2 separate regions of the Homo sapiens genome follow, and region 1 is linked to region 2. The links are contacts of gene promoters, found by promoter capture Hi-C in human tissues and cell types (Jung and others, 2019). All regions are on one chromosome and are shown on one strand. The core of a region is centred on a gene start or on the middle of the fragment in contact, and the rest is flanking DNA. Distances in the headings are between cores, read along the strand shown. Region 1 overlaps MYCT1 (MYC target 1). Region 2 holds the start of SYNE1 (spectrin repeat containing nuclear envelope protein 1).

Region 1 (4,258 bases), core at 238-2,737, 78 kb after region 2:
TTCTTCATGTGCCCAGTAATTTCATATTGTATCTTGAACATTTTGAATGGATTCTGCTATATTACCCTGAAGAGTGTTATGATGTATGTTTTCCCCCTAGTTTATTTTCACAGGCAAATAACTCTGTGGAACTACAACTACAGAAACCTATAAAGCCTGTCCCTTGGGCAGCAGCTTAAATCTCACTTTAGTTTATTTTTTTTTCTCTAGTGCTGTTTGGAATACATCCCACGTATGTGTGATTCAGGAGTCAACCAAAGATATGTGAAATGTTTATAAATAAAATTTGGGGATTCTCCTCTCTGGCTTTCTCTTCTCCAGGATTTCCCTCTCACATTCTCAGCAGCTCTTGTTTCCACAATCTCTGTCCTTTGTTTCTCAAGATCAGAAACAGTGCAGGTTTTCGACTGTAGCTTTACCTGTCCCAGACTGGAAGCTTCCCTCAGGTTAAAAGGTTTGAAAACTGGAGCTTGACTAGTACTTGCTGTTCTTTTCTTCCAGGTCTCAACTCCTCTCCAGTAGCTACAAGCATTTGGTCATTCTTAAGGCCTTTAGGTAGAATTTTTTTTTATATTGTTTTCAGTGTTCATAGTCATTATTACTTGAAAGGGTCAGTTCATAAAAGCTGATTTGGAATCCTAGCTTGATGTTTTTATTGCCTGTATCTGTTCTAATGTCACATTTCTTACTCTTGATATTGGTGATTTTCTCTTTCTCTCTGTCTCTTTCTCTTGCTCCTGCCCACTCTTTTTCCCTCTTTCTCTTTCTCTCCTCTTTCCATCCTTGTCGTTCCAATTAGTATTTTATTCATTTTTATTAGATTTTTTTCATATCTGGCTTTGATAATTTCCTCTATTTTTTCTTTTTCTTTTTTTTTTTTTTTTGCCCCTGTTTCATTAAGTTCTGCTTTCTCTTATTTACTGTATGCTACTTTACTTATGTTTCAGCTAGTGATCTTTTCCTAGCTTCTTAATATGGAAACTGAAATAATTGTTTTTGTAGGCTTTCTTATTTTAAAATGTATACCTATAAAGCTATAAATGTTCTTATGAATGTGGCTTTAGGCACATCTCACATGTTTCGATATTTCACAATTTTATCAGAATTCAGTTAAAATATTTTATAATTTTCATTAGGTATTTTATTTAATTTTCTTTATAGATCCTCAATCTCTGCTGAAAATTTTTAACTTGTTAATTTTTTAAACACATTAATCAAGTTATTTTAATATTTTTGTCTGATAATTCAAATATTTTCATAACTTACAGATATTTTTCCATTTTCTATTTGTTCTTTTAGTTTTTGTTTACTTTGTCTTGCCTCTTAGGATGACTTGTAATTTATTATTTATAACACATATATATATAACATTATTAGGTATATATAAATTTATTTAAGTATATAACTTTCTATTTCATATATATGTATAAAACTTTCCTTCTGGCAGTTAGGGGAAGATCACCTCAGTCCAACTTGGGATTGATCTATATTTTTATCTTTGTGAGGTCTGGTCTTTCTCCTGTTTACCATTAAGCTTAGGGAGTAGATCCTAGGGGGCCTAATTCCAGATTCTGGGATGTTTCCTAGGGTCCAACTTCCTTGGCAGCCCCTGAACACCAACTTATGTTTTCTAAGCTTACTTATAGTGCACAGCATTCTACTCAGATATTTTTGTTTCTTTTTACAGATTATTGTGATGAAAGATTTTCTTTTCTCCTGGAATTTGCTCCTTTGATTTAATAGTTTTGATAAGTCTCTGATGGCTTCAAACAAATTTAAGAAAATATTTTATTCTCCATTGTACGCTTGCTCTCATTGGTTTGATACATGTTAGTCTATCATATACAGAAAGGGGTGTGCTACCTTGATACTTTTGAATTTGCCCTCACCTCTAGCAATACTGTTAACTAATTATATTCAGAATATGGCTTGTGCTTTATAATTTTGATCAAAACTACTTTCAAATCTCCAAGCCTTTTGTTTATTTGACCACTACCATTCACAAAAAGGCATCTACAATTTATTTTTTCCATGAAGCTTTTTTAAACCTTCCAGATATATGTTATCCTCCTATCTTTCAAACATAATGACATTTTCAGCTCATAATGGTTATGCGTCTCATTCACATTTTCTTAGAGTATAAATTAATGAATGTAGTTTCCATTAACCAGGAAGGAAAAAAGAAAAACAAGAATTCCATTTAGGCTTCAGAGGTGGGACAGGGTGTCATTTTAGGTGGAGCAGCCAGGGTAGACCTCAATGAGAAACTTACATATAAGCAAAAGACCTGAAATTAACCATACAGATAGCTGAGGAAATAATTTTAGGAATAGATTACAACCAGGGATGGGCCCTAAGTCAGGAGCCAGCCCATCTGATGTACTTAAGGAATGGTGAGGGGGGAAGTGCAGACAGAGCTCAGTGACCCAAAGGAAGAGTAGAGGAGATGGGCTCAGATAATTGGGAGCCTATCAAGTAGGGACTTTTAGGATATTCTTAGGCATTTGTTTTTACTCTGGGAGAAGTGGAGGATTTAGAACAGAAGATTGATATGATTTGACTTACATTTTATAATGTTCTCTCTGACTACTGCATTGAGCACATTGTTGGGGTGTGAGGGATATGGCAAGGACAGAAGCAGGAAGACCATATTCCAGGTCACAGATGTGGGAATGTGGCCACTTGGATCAGTGAAGTCGCAGAGTGGGTAGTGAGAAGTTGAATTCTGGATTTCTTTTTGTTTGTGAAAACAGACCCAATAAGATGTTCTGGCACATGAGATATAATGGAAAATACTCCTCGGCTGTTTAAATTATTATAATCAATCAAATTTCTATGCCCTAAATATTATTCTCCCTAAAAGCCCTTTTCGTCAAAAGTAGTTCTATTGCCTGAACCATTCTCCTATACACTCTATGATACCAAGGACTTCATGGCCTGCTTTGGTGAACATTGAACTTATGATTCTTAACAACTGCAAAGGGTTTTTGAATGTTTTAAACAATGTTACATTCTGCCATCACTGATAAATCACTTTCAGAGTTGGAATGCTTCAACTCAAGGCCACTAGATGGTGACCTCTACTAAATTTTAATACCAGTGGATGGAATTTGAGGTATTGATTATATTTACTAAAAATCATATTCAATATTACAATATTAAAATTGGAAGACACGAACGTGGCTGTTATTATCAGGCCAAGAAGGGTCAAATGACTTGAGGAAATTACACAACTATTAGCAGTAAGAGCCAGTGTTCGTTGAGGGCTTGTTATGTGCCATCTACTTGCTAGTTTTGTAGGTACGTATTACAAATTAGGATGACATATATTTAATTTATATGGCATAGCTGACCAATGTTAGAGTTTTTTCCTTCTGCTTTCAAAAGGAAAGTTAACATTTTTAAAAGTAATCATTTGGTCTCATAAGTTGCATTATATTGCAATTATTAAGAAGAAAGATTATGGCTCATTTTTCTTCTCCTTAGATTGTTGAGAAGTAAGAAGGCATATCATTTTTTAAAAAGTAATATCTTTGCCAATGTCTTTTTTTTCAGTTACATTTTCTTCTACACTAGGTTTTAAAAAAGGCTCCCAAAATACATTGTCAAAAGTCTGCCAGAATGGAATTACATATATGAAAATTTAAAGCTGTATGACCAGTAGATGCTGCTTTCATCACACAGTTTCTAAATTCTAGTTTGGGCAGGTCAGAAAAATCATCAACTATAATTAAATGAAAAAAAAATGTGTATGAAAACCACCCCTGTTATTTGACTCAGCATCTCTTTCTTATTGCCTTTCTGCATTTCTACATTTGCCTTTGCTGTTTGGACTTAAGGGAGCTTAAGAAGATAGATAAGTATTTTACCATATACCTCAGGAAGTCTTAGAAATTCTTCTGTCAGCAGTATTATTTGTAGGTGTTTTAATATTCTGCAAGGTATAAGAATTAGTGCAATGATTTCTGATATGGTTTGGCTGTGTCCCCACCCAAATCTCATTTTGAATTCCCACATGTTGTGGGAGGGACCCGGTGGAAGGTAATTGAATCATGGGGGCAGGAATTTCCTGTGCTGTTCTTGTGATACTGAGTAAGTCTCACGAGATCTGATGGTTATTATGAGGGGGAGTTTTCCTGCACAAGCTCTCTTCGTCTGCTGCCATCCATGCAAGATGTGGCTTGCTCCTGCTTGTCTTCCACCAGGATTGTGAGGCCTCCCCAGCCATGTGGAAATGTAAGTCCAATTAAACCTCTTT
Region 2 (4,031 bases), core at 1,333-3,832:
AAGACATCTGCAACCTTCTTTTTTTCCCTTGCTACAGTATATTGCACACCTTGCCAAACATTAGTTCTCGTTAGATTAGACCACAAAGAAGTACACATTTAAGAGGAGACACACAGAGGACCTCGCAGAGGCGTTTGGGCCCTGCATGCCTGTCACATTCAGACCACAGGGTGTGGCTGCAGTAGCTAGAGCTGGAGTTGTGAAAATGCCACCAACCTTGCCCAGTTATGGGCTTCCTACATCCTGTGACAGTCACACCTCCTTTCATTTCCAAGATGCTGTGTGTGCAGCATAGTTATCAGAAAGTAGGCCCAGTGCAGCACCAAACAATTCTTGAACATTTTTAAATGGCAAACTAGCTTTTTCCAATCTCCTCTCCCTGGCAGGAAGGACTCAAGTAAAAAAGAGTTCTTAAATGAGGTCAATGAGGACAGAAGAAAACCAGTTTGTGAAAATCATTAGTTCAGAAAGATGAAAGTGAGACTATAAAATAAGAGCTAGGCAAATATTTCCAAAGCCTAGCAAATATTGTTATCTGGGTCAGTCTGAAGCTGTTTCTTAATCTTCAGCATGAAACATATTAAGTTAGTATAGATCTCTCACATTTTGTTCTAAATCTGCCACAAAGTAATGAACAGAAAAGAAAAAATAGATATGTATTTTGTCACACTGTTCCGGTGATATCAGGAACTTTTTAGCCATACTACAAATCTTTTTTCACCATGGGGAATAAAAAGCCTCTCAAAGAACAATCGTCATGACTCGTGATTAAATTCGCATTTTATGAAGATGTAGGTCATATTAATGACCTTTGCCTCATTGAAAATTATTATACTTTCTCTTGCATAGGTCTGGCTTCTGTATACGAATGTTGTCTTTAGGAAAGTCATTCTCAGATGAAGACAAAAAATGGATGGGCATTAAAGAAGAGAAAAATAATTCATTTTTAACTTTCTTAACATTCACAGGAACATTTCAGATACAAGTTTTCCACCCCAAAACGAAAAGCTCAGAAATGAACATTGTGGGATGCTAAGGCTTCATTGCTGATATTTCCCTCTGGGCTGGACCTGACTCTATTTACGGAAGGGGGCAGAACTTCCAGCATCCAAAGTCTGGGATCCCAGTCAGCACACCCAGCCTGCCTTCCCAAGGGGCTTCTTCCTGTGCGGCTGATGGCTGCTTCGTTTTGCACGGATGCCTGCCCGTTGGGATGCACCTGGCCGCCTGTGCACCACCATTTCCCAGAACTCCTCCGCCAGCAATGCAAGATCTCTCTATGTGAAACGTATCTTTATAAAGAGGAGACGAAAGTTCTCTTGCCCTCTAGTGCAGGCTCTGCCGGGAAGCAACTGCACCATGACAGCGCCGCTGGAGTCTGACGCGCCAGGGCCTCCGCGCAGCCTTCAAGCCATTTCCCTCCCCCAGCCCTTCCTAAAATAGTCAGGGGGTGGAGGAAGGGAGGCTCCTAGAATCTGTTCAACGCCCTACCTCTCCCATCTGATAGTAGCAACAGTACCGACCATCACAATAAGAGGCTGGCTGCCTTTTGCTTCTGCACCATTGGAGCCCAGGAGATGTGCCACAAGCGGAAATGACAACTCAGAGAGGGGGATATTAATAGGGACATCTACGTACGAGATGCAAAGAGGCTCCCCAACCTCCTAGTCTCCTTATCTATGAGTATCGCACACGTACACACATCACTGCCACCACCCCCTCCCATCAAGCACGCAGAGCCCCAGCGTGCAGGCACAAACTTGCTGACAATTTGTCTGCAATGTGTTCGTCTTGCACCTCTCTCTCCTCTCCCTGTCTCTGTCTCTCCCTGTCTCCCAGTCTCTGTCTTTCCTTTTACCTTCTCTCTCGGCCTCGTTCAGTTTCCCAGCAGCAAGGCGAAGCGAGCGAACGCTTCCTCCCGGCTCTCTGCGCCCAGGCTCGGCGGGACCCCGGGGATGCGCGGCTGTCCGCCCGCCCTGTCGCCGGGATCGGGCGCGGTCTGCAGGACTGCGGGAGCCCAGCCGCCCTGGTGACAGAGGACAACAATCTCAGCCCGCTGCGGCCGGCGGCCGCGGCCCGGCGCCCGCGCTCACCCTGGCTGGCTCGCCCACACTCACTCCCGCGCCGGGCTGCTCAGCCGCGCTCCCCGCCCTCCGCGACCGGTTCCTCCTCCCGGCTGCTCGCTGGGGGGTGAGGCCTCCCCCTTCGCCCTCCCCCACGCATCTACTGCTCCTGTCGGGAAGGAAGGTCGCCCAGGCCGGTTCAGCCTCTGGGCAGGGTCCCTGCACCGCCCTGGCCCGCCACACCCCCTCCCCGGCTCCGTGCCCCGCGCCCCGCGCCCGGCTCCGGGATGCGCCGGTGCCTGGAAGAGCTGGGGGCGGGGACCCGGAGGCTCGCAGGCTTCCCTACCTCCTGGAGATGCACGGCCTTGGGCGTTTCTCCGCAGCTGCAAAGCTGTGCTGTGACCCACCCGCTCAGCGAGCCTTTATACCGGGACCACCTCCCGGGGGTCGAGGTGGGAAGGAAATGTCCCTGAGAGCCGGGACGCGCTGCCTCCGCTGCCTGGAGGAGCTGCGCTGTCCTGCCAGCTAACTTTTGCCCACGGTTTCCACTGCCCGGGTGACCTTTCTGAGCGGAACCTATCCTGAAAGGCTGGGAGGTTCCCTGATGGTCCCAGGAAGGGCGTGATGCAGAGCAAAGAGCAAAACCCGCTGGCTCCTTTTTCATCAACTTCCGAAAGATCCTAAATCGTTTTGGCTGCCAAGTCAGTAGCAAATAACTTAATTTGAGGGAGACTGGTCAGGCTTTATAGATCTTTTTTAATGTTATGTATAAAGTTTAGACTTCTTGAGAAAGCGCTTGACATCTTTAATTCTTGACTGTTTATTATGATGATTCTAAAAACCACTTTTAGGTTCTTCAGGTGCACTGTATGCACCCTGTACATTGCGGAGCCATTTGTATCTTTGGCCACAAGTCCTTCTCGTGGTGTAAGAGATCTTGGTGTTGCCTGGTAGCATTCAGGAGAATTTATTTTGTTGTGGTTTTATGGTATCCAGGCAAAGTCAAACACAGTCTCTCTTCACCAACAGTGAAGTCCAAGTCCAACAGGATGATTGCAGCTAAAATAATCGAAGCCATGTTGCAATAATCTTAAAAGTAATAATCCCCCCCTTGAATCTCCAATCTGAACAAAACAGTCATTTATCCTCTAAATTTGCTGAAAGGAAGGAGCAGTTTATAAAGTAGATGAAGTTTCTCTTTGCTGCCTGCCTTTCCCTTACCTGCTGCCAACATTCCCACTGCCTAGCTTTCCATTTTCTTCAAATTCTCCTTCTTCTGGATCGTGTCAAAATAATAACATCTGAAACAAATCTGGTAAACCAATCTGATGTGTTCCTCTTCTTTGTGCTGACTTTTGTTTTTTTTTAGAGAGAGAAACCAAACAATGGATCTCTATTTGCAGAACTTGCTACCTCCAAAAGTTGGGCCTGGAGGAGGAGTGTTTGGGATCACTCTCAATGTATGCCCTGCCTCTGCCTGAGGGCAACAATCCTGGGGCACCCCCAGAGCCCCTTGTGGAGACAACCACCAGAGCATAATTATTCCAGGTCAGCCCTCTGTGCCCAGTGGCCACAAAATGGGGTCCAGATTTCCAGGCTTGCCACTCAGAAGAAACAGATCAGAATGGCTCAGCTCACCCTCTCAATCCCTACCTTCATAGAATCAATCCACCCTGCCGGCTTTTGAAGATGGGTAGAAAGTTATTGTGCCAACTTTGCCATTCTTTTTGTTTGTTTGTTTGTTTGAGATGGAGTTTCGCTCTTGTTCCCCAGGCTGGGGTGCAATGGTGCAATCTCGGCTCACTGCAACCTCCGCCTCCCAGGTTCAAGCAATTATCCTGCCTCAGCCTCCTGAGTAGCTGAGATTACAGGGATGCGTCACCACACCTGGCTAATTTTGTATTTTTAGTAGAGACAGGGTTCCTTCATGTTGGTCAGGCTGGTCTCAAACTTCCGACCTCAGGTGAC

The links. The method cuts DNA at HindIII sites, captures the fragments that hold promoters and counts their contacts. A contact is called where the count stands out against the background at its distance.
Region 1: a contact is called between a fragment that was not itself captured here and the fragment with the promoter of SYNE1 in region 2, in 2 of the 25 tissues and cell types used here (liver and mesendoderm cells).

What each region holds. Positions count from the first base shown.
Region 1 is chr6:152,713,438-152,717,695 of GRCh38, forward strand. All of the region lies in intron 1 of MYCT1 (MYC target 1), which reads left to right. Among named protein-coding and RNA genes, the nearest start is that of MYCT1, 18 kb to the left of the region's middle. The HindIII fragment of the contact is 4,742 bases long and covers 1-3,858 here.
Region 2 is chr6:152,634,780-152,638,810 of GRCh38, forward strand. It overlaps SYNE1 (spectrin repeat containing nuclear envelope protein 1), which reads right to left and starts at 2,583. Exons shown (of 146, transcript NM_182961.4): 1 at 2,410-2,583; 2 at 1,859-2,026. RefSeq lists an enhancer at 81-210. The HindIII fragment of the contact is 20,643 bases long and covers 1-4,031 here.